Regions from separate parts of the Homo sapiens genome. Here region 2 is linked to region 1. Evidence: promoter capture Hi-C in human tissues and cell types (Jung and others, 2019). All regions are on one chromosome and are shown on one strand. The core of a region is centred on a gene start or on the middle of the fragment in contact, and the rest is flanking DNA. Distances in the headings are between cores, read along the strand shown. Region 1 holds the start of PYROXD2 (pyridine nucleotide-disulphide oxidoreductase domain 2). Region 2 overlaps R3HCC1L (R3H domain and coiled-coil containing 1 like).

Region 1 (7,849 bases), core at 113-2,612:
CTTGCAGGGAACAGCTTTGGGGCTGGGGGAACTAGAACCCACATGTTGGTCTAAACCCTGAGAAGGTGGCAGTGAGGAAGTATCCCCTCAGGTGACTGGATCTGTGTTCCTCCTTAACATCATCTGATGGAATGGCAATGAAAAGCGTGGATTGTGGAAAATACAGAAAAACATAAAGGAAAAAACTCCAATCCCCTGAGCCCACCACTGTTCAGGACCCCTGCTTTTGTCACCTACTATTTCCCTTTAGTTTTTAGCAGCGGCTGGATGTGATATGTCTAGTTTAACCAGTCCCCTTGATCTTTCTATATAATAAATAACACAGGAGTGAACATCCTGAATCAGATCTTAGCAGAGATGCTCACATGCGGGGTAACTGTCCATGGTGTGTGGAGGGGTCCTCGGAACCCCCTCTTAGGATCATCTCCACATACTCTCCCAGTTCTGAGATTCGTTACCAATAGCAGGTTTCCGTCACACTGCGATATCAGAGCAGTGCAGGAACTCTCCGCTCCAAGGGGTTTTTTCCTCCTAGGGGAACACTCTGCTAAGTAATGGGCAGAGAACAAAGGGGCTCCTAATTCAAGGCAGGCCTAAGGGAGGGTCAGAAAGAACTTTAGCTGGAGGTATTTACAGATGTGACCTCGAATCCTTGGGGATTCTTGGAAAATGGGCAAGGTGCCAAAAGAGGAGAACTGGCCAGGCCTTCAAAACTAAAACACCAGAGAATTACAGACAGCGAACTTGCCCCTAAGCCCTCGTTGTGGGTTTGTGTTTGAGCATTTAGGAGAGGACTCCAGTGCTCCTCAGCGACAGACACAGCTGCCTCTGCGGTGTCTGAAGGCCCTGGTCGTGGTGACGCTAGATGGCCGCCCTGGGCGCCTCCTGTGGGCGTAGAGGCATCACCACTCTGCACTGGCAGACTCAGCATGGAGTTGGAGCAGAGTCTGACACGAGCACTTGCCATCCCAGGCGTTTCAGTTCTGACTGAGAAGGTAGATGCACAGGGGAGGAGAGGGCCCTTTCGAGCTCCACTCTGCCTCCACCACTCATTCCCTAACCCCGCAGCCTCAGCGCCCTCATCTGTAAAATGGGGAGTTTTGCCTACAGGGTTCAGCACAATGCCAGCCTGACATAGGAACCCCAGTGGATTGTCAGTTTTGCCATTATCCCCTGCATCCTGGAGGTGACACCGCCTGGTTAATAGGCAACACTCCCGACGGCCCAGCACAGCCCCAGGGCAGCAGGAGGCTGGCCTGTGGCCAAGAATGCATGGTGGAGGGGGCCTGGAGGGGGACTGCAGCTCCTCCTCTTCCTGCTTCCTCCCTGCTCCACCCCGTGCCTAGGGCAGCACAAAAGCCAATCGCTAGCAAACTCCCTGCCTAGCAAGGCCCAGCCTGGGGCAGAAATGGCTGCAAGTGGCCGAGGTCTCTGCAAGGCTGTGGCCGCCTCTCCCTTCCCGGCGTGGAGACGAGATAACACGGAAGCCAGGGGAGGTCTGAAGCCTGAGTATGATGCGGTGGTGATAGGAGCAGGTAAAGTGGTAAAGCAGGCCGGGCCAGAGCTGAGGGGCGGGAAGACAGCCCTGCTCAGAGCTTGGTGGGGAGGGGGAGGGGGAGCCAAGCCCCACTGCTCTCTCCTCTGGCATAACCCAGCCAGAAGTTTATACGCTAGCAGGGGCTGCAATGGAAAGCCCTTCCATCTGGCAGGCAGGCACCTGGGATTCCGGTGCTGGCTCTGCTGTGTGGCCTGGGGCAAATGCTTGCCTTCTCTGGGCTTGGATCTTCCCATGGAGAATGACAGGAAGACTAGGTGAGCTCAGGGGTTTCCCTATATCTCTTGCAAAGTGACCTAGTTTCCACCACATTCTCAGCCTATGGTTTGTAAGGGTTGGAAAGAGCCCTGGGCCAACAGACAAGTGAAATCCAGCACCCCGCCCCCTCAGTGCCCTGAGTTCTGGTCACCACTACCTTACCACTGAGGCCACCCCTCGTCACAAGAAACTGCAGTCATTTCATAAAGGCCAGTTAGGATAAAACAGAACTGAGTCCCAGAGTTCCTACTGCGTGTCTGCAGAGGGAGATGGACCCCATTGCCTTGCAGCTCTGGGACATTTGGGGATCTGCAGTGATCTGCCACACTTTGCCAACCCCTGGGCTCAGAGTATCACAGTCTACTGGGTGCTAGGGGAAGAGGCAGGCCCAGGACCAGGTGGTCTTTCCTTAGTGCCTTCCTTTCACACTTGCAGAGGGCCCCAAATGCATGATTGCCAACTGGGTCTATACAGAGATAATGACGGGACCGAAAGCAGACGGCACTCAACATGCAGCTTTGAGGGCATGCCTTCATTTTCATATGTACTAGAGCAGTTGCGAGCTGGTAGATACTCAACACTCACCTCTCCAGGGAAAAATGTGTGATGTATGTGTGTGTGTACATGTATATATATGTATATATACACACATATATGTGTATATATATGTATATGTGTTACGTACATATATATACACATATACACATGCTTATTTTAAATATTGAAATAAAAGATACACTGCACACAATTTTACAAATAAAGATACAATACTCTCAATTTAAATGCAGTCTACCCGAGTGATTCTTACCAAAGGCTTTCTTTGATTTTTGCCAAACTCAGTAGCCAACCTATAGTTGCAAATGACAAATGAGGGTAGCTCCAAAGAGAACGGTGCTCCATATTTTCTGTAAAGAGTAGGATGATCGTGAAACAAATGAAACAACAAAGATTTATGTCCCAACCTTACTCCTTTATTTTTTAAAATTTATTTTTATTTTATTTATTTATTCATTTATTGAGATGGAGTCTTGCTCTGTTGCCCAGGCTGGAGTGCAGCGGCGCAATCTCGGCTCACTGCAACCTCCGCCTCCTGGGTTCAAGCGATTCTCTTGCCTCAGCCTCCCGAGTAGCTGGGACTACAGGCGCCCACCACCACGCCCGGCTAATTTTTGTATTTTTAGTAGAGACGGGGTTTCACCATGTTGGCGAGGCTGATCTCAAACTCCTGGCCTTGTGATCCACCTGCCTCAGCCTCCCAAAGGGCTGGGATTACAGGTGTGAGCCACTGCGCCCGGCCTCCTTCTTTAAATGACAGGAATGATGTTACTCAAATAAGATAATATTGTTCTAATACTAGAATATTTCCTTCAATTTTTGTGCTATTTATTCATGCTATAACAGCTAACACTGTTAGGTTTAATCTGCATTATTAGCATTTTCCCATCACTTTCTTAAGCCTGACCACAAAAAATAAATTCAGCCCTTCTGTGTAATATTTGCTGATGACAGTGGTGTAAATACTCCCACCATAGCCTTTTCTGTTACCAAGATGAGGTTGCTCAATGTGATTTAGGAGAGATACCCAGTAGCACATCATTGTATAGTGTGTCCACCATGCAGATATGTACATAGAGGCCAGTGACTGCCAGGGCATGGGCAACAGTCAAATGTAGTAAAACAAATAGGAGGTAGTGTGTTTTGAGTATTTATTACCTTTGTTTTTAATTTATTTAATTGTAAGCTTATATAATTTAGTTTATATCAATGGCTGTTTGACAGCCGGCTCACAAACTCCCCGGGCTGGTGGGAGCCATCTCCAGCACCTCACTTAGCCTCAGAGAAGCCCCCTGCCTCCTTCCGTGCTCAGCCACAGCTCACCCTGCTGTCTCCTAATGGGGAAGGTTGACTTTAGGTCACCAGCTGCCTTGGTGACTTGCCTACAAGTGCGAGTGAGTCTCAGTGTGTGAGCTTTTCCTTGACATGATTTCTTTAGTTGCTAAACATACCATAAAGCCTGGTTTAAAGGCATCTTGGGCCTCAGTGAGGAACAGAACGGCATCTTCTGAGACAAGGGTTACCTCTGAGTCCCTGAAGGCACACTGGCACCTGGCCGCCACCTTGAAGATGAATCTCATTTAGTCATTTGACTAAATGTGCCTGAGAGTGACTGAGGGGGCTTGTTAAAATGGAGATTCCTGGCCCCATACCTGGTGACGAGCATTCTGAGGGCGGGAGGTGTCTCCCAGAGGTCAGCACATCCACCCAACCAACACTGCCTGATGCAGGCAGCTGCAGAGCCCACGCCCAGAGCAGCTCCTCAAGGGCCCAGGCGCCTGCTATGGGGCCCCTGAGGCAGGTCTGGGGATTAGCAGAGCCCGCAGCTGAAGTCCTCTTCAAGGGAACAGAGGTGTCACCAGAAGCCAAGGAGGGCTCAGCCAGGACTTGAGGGTGGTCACTGGGAGGGGGTCTTGTGCTTTGGATCCTTGACCTTACTCATTTGAGGTCTGCCATGATTGAACTGGACCCAGTTGCCTGGAAGACTATGAGTTTTCCAAGATCGATCATCAGCACCAATTAAAAGACAAATAGCTCCCATTTATCTCATCCTTGCCACACTGCAGGGTCCCTGGCACCCTCTGTTCCCCATGTGAAGAAACTCAAGGCTCAGGGCAGCTGATGACTCTCTGAGGTCATGCCCTGGCAAATAGCAGAGGCTGGGCTGAGCCCAGGACTGTCTGCCTTTAGTTTGCTGCATGTCTTTGAGAGACAGATTCCATCTGTTCATGAGTCCCACTGGCGGATTGTTTAAACTTTCTTATGAACATTTTCAAAAGCCCATACAAATAAAGAGTATGTCAACCAGCACTTTTTAAGATGAACTGTAACCAACTAGCTTCTCACATGCTTCTCATATGGTAAGAGTTAATTTTAGCTCATGAAACTTTTGGTTCTGTGAAACACCTGCTGAACAGACTCCTGGGAAGGGGGTCTGTGGGAGTCGACATTTATACAACCTTCCAGGTGATTCTGAGCTTATCAGAGCTGGAGAGGCACTTGCTACCCAGGGGCTTGGTGTGGAACGTGAGATGCCAAAGCCAAATTCAGGCCTCTCAGCTCAAGGCACCCTGAAGCACAGCTAGTCACTCCAGCACATGTTGAAGCTGTGCATGTTTACTTCATGTTGAACTGTTCATGTTTTATTTTTGGAACACTGGGGATTGGCAAAAAAAAAAAAAACCCATGTGAATAAAGCCTTCTAGGGCACCACTGTGCCGATTGTGAACCACACGTGGACAAAACAAGCCGCGCTTGATAGCAACTACCTACATGACCAGCACTCCCCTGGATGCTGATGCTGCCATGCGAGACGGGACGTTGGCGCAGCAGCATGCCAGCCACCCATTGCTTCTCCTGCTTGCCAACTCAACCGTGCTGCTCCCTCAGACACCATCACTTGCGCCTCCCAAGCAATGGAAGCCCTGGCGATGCTCTCATGAGCCCCTCACTCCAGCAGAGCCCCTGACCAAGCCAGGGGAGCAGGACTTTTCCAGCCAAGGCAAGAACCAGGGTTTTCTGACTCCTTGAAGATCTGGTGTTTCATGGAGTTGAACTAGATGCTGTTCCAACATCTGAGTGCGGGAAGGGGAGGGGAGGGTCACCAAGGATCTTCATGGCATGGGGACGGGCAGCGGGGAGCACATTCCTCAAGGACTGTCTGTCTGCCCGCCCGCTGACCAGTGATGTTTTCCTTCCCTGTCCCGTTTTGTTGCAGGACACAACGGACTGGTGGCTGTGAGTACCTCCCCACTTGATCCCACTTCACTGGCCCTGGGCGTGTGGCTCTCAGCAGCCTGGGAAGGAGTGTGAAGAAGCAGGTGGGATAAGGGCCTTGAGAGAGAAGGAAAAGGCAGCCTAGTCGATGCTCTCTGCTCTCCAGTGCTGACTGGGGGCTGGGTCGAATGCTCATCTGCAGCCAGCTGTGGACATCACAGGCTCCTTTCCTCCCCTTCCCCTAATGGGGAAAGGTGGTTTCCCCATGGCCTGTGAGGGAGTCAGGGAGCTTCCAGAAACAAGCTGACAAGGTGGGGAAGCATGTAACCAACACAGCATGAGAGCAGGTGGGAACCAGGGGATTGGGCACCTGGGGCGGGGTGGGGGCCCTTGACTCCAGATCATAGGCAGCCCTTGTGTCTAGAGCCCTGTGTTCCCAGCCAGGTCCAGGCCAGGTACCACCTTGGAGTACATAGCTGCTATGTGGCCAAAGTGTGCCCTGGAGACATTGAGGAGCTCAGTCTAGCAGAAGGGCCTGTGCCCTGTCCCCAACACAACTGACTTCAAGATCCCAAACTGAGCTGGATATCCCAGAGCTATCCTTAGCTTATGCTTCTGTAACCTGAGTCCAGATACCTCCAGGAGGCCACAGAAGGCATTCAAGGCCACAAAACAAATGTGGAACATCTTCTTGAAGCAGCAGCAGCTCTAGAACATCAATATAGGGGGAAACTGTGGCTGTGCTAACGGACTGATGTTAAACCTTAATACTTTGCCTGATGTCTAAGTTTTACTTGAACATTTTACGTGCGGCATTTTGTAACTCAATGGATCAGTAATTTAAAACATTTATTTTATTTTATTTTATTTTAATTTTTTTTGAGACGGAGTTTTGCTCTTGTCACCCAGGCTGGAGTGCAATGGCATGATCTCGGCTCGCTGCAACCTCTACTTCCCGGGTTCAAGCAATTCTCCTGCCTCAATCTCCTGAGTAGCTGGGATTGCAGGCAGCCGCCATCATGCCTGGCTAACTTTTGTATTTTTAGTAGAGACGGGGTTTCGCCATGTTGGCCAGGCTGATCTCGAACTCCTGATCTCAGGTGACCCGCCTGCCTCAGCCTCTGAAAGTGCTGAGATTACAGGCGTGAACCACCACGCCCGGCCTGATTTTATATTAATATAAACAAAGATTCATCTCCCAGCTCTGCCACTTTGTGAAGGTTAAGGTGTCACTTAGCCTCTCCGAGTCACGGTAAAATGGAACAATGGCACCTGCCCTCACAGAGCTGCTGTGAAGGTAATAGATCATTTGCTGCTAGGACCTGGCACATGCAGCCTTGCCCAAATGGTGGCTGTTATTACTGGAAGTTTCCAGGCCAAGGAAGGCTGGCATCCACAGCCCTTCACCCAAAGCCCACCAGGAACACACTTGTAGTTAGTCTAGTTTGGTTTCTTGCTCTTTGCAGCGAGGGAACTCACATCAGGGGAACCTCGGGTTGCCTCAGTAGGAAGGTGTTAGAAAGAACCTAGCACAGGATTTGAGCTTTGGTGATTTGAGGGAAGGCCTACGAAAATAGGGGTTGCCACAGATTAGATACTGTCAGGAAGGAGGGACAGCCCTGCAACTGGGCAGCTCAAGAAATCTGATCTGTAGGGAGGAGAGACGAGTGTGCAGAGAGCAGTAATTGATAAAGAAGTAGCAGTCACTCATTTCAGCCAAGAGGGGTGTTCGGTATTTTCTGGATGGCACAGAGACATTGCTTTTGTTTGTGCTTGCCTCATTTTATCATAGTCTCATAGAAACCTTATTTGAGGTTGTCAATCTGTGAGATCGTTCCTGTGTAATAGGAGAATGACGCAGCTCACCTTGCGTGCCAGGCCTCAGCCACTGAGTGACAGCTGCTGTTTCTTTCTCAGTAGGTTATGATAGGAGGTTATGTTAGGAGGATAGATGCTGGTTTCACGCTGTCTGGTTTCAATTCCCAACACCTCTACTCATCAGCTCTGTGAGCCTGAGGCAAGCTGTTAACCTCATTGGGCCTCAGTCTTCTCATCTGTAAAATGGGAGAATCATAGTACCTACCTCTTGGCTGGTGGGAAAAATTAAACAAGACAATGTACTCACTGCTTCTGGCACATAATAGCTGCCAAGTGAGCTTTTTGAAAAGTCCGACTTTTGCATGGCACCATTCCTGTGGTCACAGGGCCAGCATTTTAGATCGGTAGATTCATGACCAGTTTGGTTCAACAAATATTTATTGATTT
Region 2 (7,849 bases), core at 3,477-5,976, 240 kb after region 1:
TTCCAAGGACAGAAAACCAAACACCTTATGTTCTCACTCATAGGTGGGAATTGAACAATGAAAACACTTGGACACAGGAAGGGGAACATCACACACTGGGGCCTGTTGTGGGGTGGGGTGATGGGGGAGGGATAGCATTAGGAGAAATACCTAATGTAAATGATGAGTTAATGGGTGCAGCAAACCAACATAGCACATGTATACATATGTAACAAACCTACACATTGTGCACATGTACCCTAGAACTTAAAGTATAATAAATTAATTAATAAATTAATTTTAAAAAATGTTCAGGCAAAATGTAATTCGCCATAACAAAAGACTAACAAAAATAAAATACATGATTATCTCAATAGATGTACATAAAATATCTGACAAAATTCAACATCCATCCAGTAAACTAGGAATAGGAGAACTTCCTCATCCTGATAAATGTTATCTACAAAAAAAAAGCAGAGCAATAAAAACCTATAGTTTATATTATACTTGATGAAGAACCAAATGCTCTCCCCGTAAGATGCAAAAATAAAGTAAAGATGACCACACTTGTCACTTCTATTTGACATTAAAATGGAGGTTTTAGCCAGTGCAGCAAGGCAGAAAAAAATATAAAAGACATCCAAATTGGAAGAAAGAAGTAATACTGTCTTTATCTGCAGATGACATAATCTTCTGCATAGAAATCCCATAGAATCTCTAAGAAAGCTACCAGAACTAAGTAAGTTTAGCAAGGTTATGAGGATACAAGCAGTTCTATATTCTATCAATGAAAAAAACTGAAAATCGAAGAGTATCATTTACATCAGCACTCAAAAACATGAAATGCTTAGGCATAAATCTAACAGAGTATGTGTACAATCTATGCTGAAAACTAAAATACATTGATAAGACATCAAAAATCGAAAGAAAGATCATAAATGAGATGCCTCAATATTTAAGATATCAATTCTCCCCAAAATGATCTTTAGAATTAAATCAGAATCCAGAAGGACTTTCTACAGAAATTAAGAAGCTGATTTTAAAATGGATATGAAGAGGCATAGGAACTGGAATCGCCAAAGTAACTTTGAAAAGGGATGAAGATGGAGAACTCACACTACCTGATTTCAAGTTTACTATAAAGCTACAATAATCTCAGGTAAGTGTCACATTGGAGAAAGGGTAAACATTTAGATGTATGAAACGCAGTAAGAGTCCAGAAGAAGACTCACACATATATGAACAACTGATTTTCAAGAAATGTATAAAGGAAATTCTATGAAAAAAGAGAGTCTTTCCAAAAAATGGTGCCGAAACAAGTGGAAATTCATTTGCAACAAAAACTGTATCCATACCTCACACCACATATAAAAACTAACAAAATGAATCACAGATCTAAATGTAAACCTACAATTTTAACACTTCTATAAATAAATATAGAACAAAATCTTTGTGATTTTTGGTTTAGCAAAGGTTTCTTAGATACAACATCAAAAGCATGACCCATAAAATAAAATAATTTTTAAATCAATAAACTCGACTTTATCAAAATTCAAACTTCTGCTCTTCAAAGACATGTAAGAGAATTTTAAAAAGCCACAAACCACAAGAAAATATTTGCAAATCACATCTGATAACTTTCATCCAGAATCTCAAAACTCAGTGTCAAAAAAACAACAAAATAATTTAAGAATACTTCACCAAAGAAGATATAAGGATGGCAAAAAAGATGCTCAAAATCATTTATCATTAGAGAAATACAATTCCAGTTACACAACATCCTGGAAAATACAAAACTGTAGAGACAGAAAACATACCACTGGTTGCCAGAAGCTTGGGGTCAGGTAAGGGGCTGACTATAAAGTGACAAGGGAATTTTTTGGATGGATGGAACTGCTCTCTCTGCATTTTAATTGTGTGGGAGTTACACAACTGCATGTTTGTCAAAATTCACAAAATGTACTCTATGAAACGTGAAGTTTGCCATATATAATCTTAAGTTTTTTAATGAAAAAAATGACATCTCTTTAAAATTCCTGCTAAAATACAGCTGACAGCACTGACCCTTTAATTTCTGATTCTTGGCTTTAAAATATGCCTGTCTAGTAGCCAGGAAATAATCAGTATAGCCTTAATGAAGTTATCTGTAAGACTGACGGTTTCTTTCTTAAATCTTGAGGCCATAGTCTTTCCCAATTTAATTCTGCAGTCATTACTTAAAACTTCATTGACTTACTCAACTTTGCACGCGTTAACGATGAGAAACTTGGTCTCCTTTGACTGTCAACTCTATCATCTCTTCCATATATAACCGAACTACACAATCCTTTGCACTGCACTCGGGTAGATACAGAAAACTATATTTTTAATTTGAACGGTTTTATTTTGAACTACAGAGGAAAAGAGGGCTCCGAGAATGCCAAGGTAATCTGGCAATTCCAAATAACATTACGAACATCAATATGTAAGAATTTTTTCTAAAATACATTTTTTTCTAGACTTTCTCACTCAAAACCTTAGATTCACCAGAGCATACAATATATAAACTAGGCTTACCTTGCATTTAAGATTTTCCATGATTTGGTGTCAATCTACAATTTCAATAATACTTCTATCATTCTCAGACACAAAGTCTCCATTCTGGGCAGGATGGCCTCATTGTCTGCTCCTTCCAACTTCTGAAATGCCCTCCTTGATAATGTCTAACGCCCTCCTAAATGAGTTGTGTTTAAACTGAGACATCTCATTGTTGTTATATCACTCTCATTATATACTCCTTTATATTCTTATTCAACTGTTTCATTTATGAATGCCATCTCACACTCTACAAGTTTCTTGAGGGCAGATAGTATCTTTCATATGCTGCTTTTATCCCTGGGAATACAATAAATATTCACAGAAAAATTAATGTAAGAACTGATTTTAAATTACTTTAGATCTTATACTAATTTTAAATTAATTCAATAACTTCCTGGAAGTTTATTTTGTACTTTGAGAAACGGAGGCAACGGGCACTAGAATTTGTTCCCTGAGATCTCAGCCCAATTCATCTTCGTATCTCCAGAGCTGAATACAATGCCCGACACATGAAAAACATTAAAACACTTAAATAGTTAACTAAATTTCACTTTCTAAGGCCACAGAGTAAGAAATGGAATCCTGAAGTTCTAGTCCAATTCTCCCAAGATTGTATTAGTACTTTGAAATGTTCTCTAATTTCTCATATTTGTTCACATATTCTCCCTGAATATACTACAAGTATAGCAAACATAAAAGTTGTTCTATCTCCTCTTTTTAAAGCTCAAAAAGCAACCATTACAGTATTGAGTGCAGGCATAGCAGGTGGGCAATATTCCTATCAGATTTCTTAAAAAGCAACATACACGCAGCTCACAGACACTTCTCTGCCCCATGTAAAAACACGTTAGATACTCTTCCTATTGGGAAGATTTATTTTTCATCATCTTTGGCACAAGTTCTAGAATGCTATCTGCCAGGCCCCATGCCCCAATAAATATGCATCCACAAGCAATTATGGAGATAGATAGCTTATGGGGAGGGGGCACTATTTGGTCAGGTCCCAATGCTAACCTGTGGTTAGGGGGAAAAAAGAGTAGGGGGAGGGGTGTGGCCCTGTGATTAATCACTGCCCACTCTGCTTAGGGGTATTTATCACAGCCCGCTGTCAGGTAAATCACTGGAAAAACACCTCTTCAGTAATTAATGCGAAGTGACGGATGGACAGCCCCTGGGCCCATTAATCAGGAACATCAGCAGCCTACTGAGATTATGAATGTCAGGATGCATAAACTGCCGGTGGATCAATAGGCCCAGGAATTCATCCAAGGCTCTCATTTCCGAAGCATCTCCGGTACATTAGGCTCCCTCTACCCCTCCCCCAGTCTGAAGTGAAAAGCAAGGTTTCAGAACAAAGAGCAGGAGCTGAGGTCTAAAGTGATCAGTGAGAGAAAGCAGTCAAGGAAGCTGGCTATGGCTAGGGATGGTACCAGGACAGGCAACATGAGCACAGAGCTACACTAAGAGGCTCTCTCAGAAGGCTCAATGTTCCTGCAAAAGAACCAGGAAGACATGGTACACAACCAATTATTCAGAGCCTAACTGTCCATTTTAGGGATCATCCATTTTCTTGCTTCGAATTTTTTACCCATTTCCCCATCTACATTTTCTTTCCTTTCATATTAGCACCACCAAAGAGAGAAGAAAGAAATAAGAGAATGAAAATTCCATTTCTGCAACCTAACAATCTAGGTAAAAATTTTGATTTAAGAAAAACAAGAATTTATATAAAATGAAATCAGTAAATTACCTTTACCTCATCCCTAAGTACCACAATGACAGAATTACTGTAAGTACCCAGAGTGTTAAGCAAAAAAATTCCCCACCGAAAGGGTCTGCTCAACTTGTAAAATTTTTAGTCTGGAGCTGAAAGACTATTTCTGTCTACTTGTCATCCCAAGTTTAGTCAAATTTTGTATGGGAAGTAAGCTTGGGCTACAGCCTCATACTGAATACATACTAGGCTGGCAGTGACGGGAAGGAGACTGCACTTGCTGCCACATCCCGCCAAACCCCAGTGCTGTGCTTTGTGGTCAGACTCAGGCCAGGGCTGCAATTGTTGGTTAGAAAGTATTTCAGAGTTACGGCTGCCTGTTCCGCTAAATCTCATTTCATCCTACTGATGGATGGATGGACAGATGGCTGCCTGGTGAAAGCAGCATTATCAGCCAGCTTCTATGGAGCCTCCAGATGATGGATAGCCCTCTTTCTACTTTCTCCAAACCACCATCGATCCAAGCCATATTTCAGCGGTCAGAAGCCCAGTAATATTAAGACACACAATCAAGTTAAGTTACTTGCAGTGTAAACCTCTAGAACAGAAATCCTAACACCTCAGCTTTGCTGTCATGAACCACGCTAAAAATGTTACAGTTTCATTCTTTCTAGCTGCTAACCCAATGAATTCCAACAGCTCAAGCCCAAAGGGAATAGCTGGGCTCCATTCCTAGCAGCTACTTGAAAAGCTAGTTTGCCTGCCAAATTTTTTACTAGCCAGTTCATTTCTGTGAAATGAACTCTGCAGCAGTAGTGAGCGGATCTGTGAATACGTGTATATCCCGTGGAGTGTAAAGCTATTAGAATCATCAAACAACCTAGAGTTTGTCAGTGATATAATCACTAGCCTCAAACATGTGTAGAGCCTTAGACATACCAAATAGACCTTTTCTACCAACACCAAGGATAGCGATTAAAACTAGGACAGATTAAAATTATCTTTTGAACATAATCCTAAAATGTTGTTTCTACCCAGTCAGCCTGACTGGCTTCTACTCTCTTGCATACATATTAAACATAATAGTAAGTACTAATCCTTGCCTGCTTTCACAAGCACACTTCTGAGTCCATTTGCTCTATCACATTCTAGACACTCATCTCAGCTTGTCTACCGTGCCTTTCCTTGTTCCTTCCATCTTATCATCCTGAGCTCTCAGACAGCAACTTGGACTTGTATAATCGAATGTTGTGTCAAAGTTATTTCCACTGGTGTGGCTGGAAGAAATGGATTCTGACTCCAGCTTCATGACATAGGTTCCCAGAACCTACATGCTCTCTTTTGCTAAGCTTACTTATCCCCAAATGACTTCTTCTCATAATGTTTCACTATTAACTATACCCGAAATCAGCTTGGCCTGGCTCCTCCTAGTCTTGGCCCCTCTTGATTGAACCACTGCTATCCTGAGCCTATATTCACAGAGAATTAGTTTGTATTTGTTTATGGGGCCAAAAAAATGCCACGGTGGAGCAGTAACTGTCTTTCTATTTGATGTCATGATAGTTTACTTCTTTAATATCTATGCCTTAACAACATCTAGAGCTCTGTTTCTATCAAAAAAGAACATGCTATTGTTTAAAGATACTACTTTATTAAAGTGTTGTATTAAGAATAGCACTGCCCTTCAAATAAACATTAAAGAATTTTTACAGAGCCTTGGAATTAGACTTACCGAAAGGGATTGTATAGGTCAGAATTCAACATCCTAGTTTTTCAGATAAAGATACTGAGAATTCAAAATTGTAATGTCTGTGGTTACACAGATATTAAGTGGCAATGCAAGACTGGAACCTTGGTTACAATTATAAGGGCTGTGCTCACGCTACTATATTTCTCAGACATTCTGTTTTCATCCTTGGAATTTCAGAGAGAGTGAAGGCAATGAGGGTTAAGTGTTGTGTGCATGCCTATGTGTTTTGGGGAAGGAAGGTGGCCACAAATAATTAAGTGTGGTGACCTATATACTATTGTGCTTCCCATCAAGGTTGCCCATAGGTCATCTGAAAGCTATTCACTATCTTACAGAACAAAATTGGATGAATAGCTGACAATTAGATACCTCTATTCCTTTCTTCTCCTTTCTTTAGTATCTGCCCCAGCCCTACCCAGAAAGTTTTAGAAAGATAATAAGTGAAAGCAGAATCAGAGAGCAAGAGGCTCTATGACTTAACCTAAATGAACAGAGGGTCAATGTGTCCTCTTCATTTCCAAGAATGCCACATTCTGGTCAAATACAGAGCACAACTTCAATGACTGGACTTCACCCTCTGGTGGCCAAAATGTGTCACTACTACATTTCCCAGTTTCTAAGCCACCTGCATACCTATCTTCAAATCTTATAGCTGAAGCCAGGCACAGTGGCTCACGCAGGCAATCCCAGCACTCTGGGAAGCCGAGGTGGGAGTACTGCCTGAGGCCAGGAGTTCAAGACCAGCCTGGGCAACTTAGCAAGACTCTGTCTCTAAAAAATTAAAACAAGATAAAAAATTAGCTGGGAACGGTAGCACATACCTGTAACCCTCACTACTTGGAAGGCTGAGAGGGAGGGAGACTGCTTGAGCCCATGAATTTGAGGGTGCAGTGAACTATGATTGTGACACTGTACTCCAGCCTGGGTGACAGAGCAAGACCCAGTCTCAAAACAAACCAACAAAAAGCTTATAGCTGAAAAGAGCCTTTGAAAATCATCTGGTTGAGGGATTTATCTAAGACTATTAGAGTGGTAGTAACTAAGACCAGAACCCAGATTGTCTATCAACTAAACTAGCAGTTTTACCACCATTATAGCAGTATTATCAGTTTTCCACCGAGTATATGCTCACAATATATGCTGAGCAAAGTTTAATCAGGAAGTTAATTGTGCTGAAGAAATAATCACATAATGCACATCAAATCCAAATATATTATCCACACTAATACTCATTACCATTAAGGATAAATGATCAGGGTGATTTTTCCATCCCATTCCCCCAAAAATGTGCCTCATACACTGGACAAGACTTCTACTGTGACTATTCTTGGCACAAGAAAAAAACTTCAAACAATTCCCAAAAAAAAGCACTCACTCCAAAAAAAAAAAAAAAAAAAGGTTGTGTTAGGTGAGTAATAAGGAATGACAATTCTTCGAGCTGTTAGTTTTACATATTCCCTAAGCTCATATAAAGGCTGATTTATTTGCATTAAGCAAATACATTTTAGAATAACTAGTTTTGTACACTCATTTGCAAAGCTATCTTAAACCAAGACAAAGATTCTTATCTTTCATTTTAAAAAGTCTTTTTATAGTTTCTACTTAGTTAAGAAAGAACTATTAAGCCATGCCCAAGAGAACAATGACATATTTTTCAAAATCTGCCGCGATGAACCATGTCTAATTGTGTTTTCTGTTTCATTACAGTTTAGGCCCTACAAGCAAAAGTGAAGTAGTGGTAGAGCAGTGATTTAGTAGTAGTAGAGGAAGAGAAAGAAGAATAATCAGCTACCATTTACAGAGTGCTTACTACATGACAGGGACTGTGG

Evidence for each region. The method cuts DNA at HindIII sites, captures the fragments that hold promoters and counts their contacts. A contact is called where the count stands out against the background at its distance.
Region 2: a contact is called between a fragment that was not itself captured here and the fragment with the promoter of PYROXD2 in region 1, in 1 of the 25 tissues and cell types used here (bladder).

What each region holds. Positions count from the first base shown.
Region 1 is chr10:98,408,695-98,416,543 of GRCh38, reverse strand. PYROXD2 (pyridine nucleotide-disulphide oxidoreductase domain 2) reads left to right here and starts at 1,362. Exons shown (of 16, transcript NM_032709.3): 1 at 1,362-1,535; 2 at 5,586-5,605. The coding sequence starts at 1,409. It overlaps HPS1 (HPS1 biogenesis of lysosomal organelles complex 3 subunit 1), which reads left to right. Exons shown (of 20, transcript NM_000195.5): 20 at 1-346. RefSeq lists a silencer at 7,126-7,326 and an enhancer at 7,333-7,532. The HindIII fragment of the contact is 8,881 bases long and covers 1-7,778 here.
Region 2 is chr10:98,169,453-98,177,301 of GRCh38, reverse strand. The region is part of intron 4 of R3HCC1L (R3H domain and coiled-coil containing 1 like); the gene reads right to left. Among named protein-coding and RNA genes, the nearest start is that of R3HCC1L, 39 kb to the right of the region's middle. RefSeq lists enhancers at 3,534-4,035, 6,651-6,700. The HindIII fragment of the contact is 3,154 bases long and covers 3,150-6,303 here.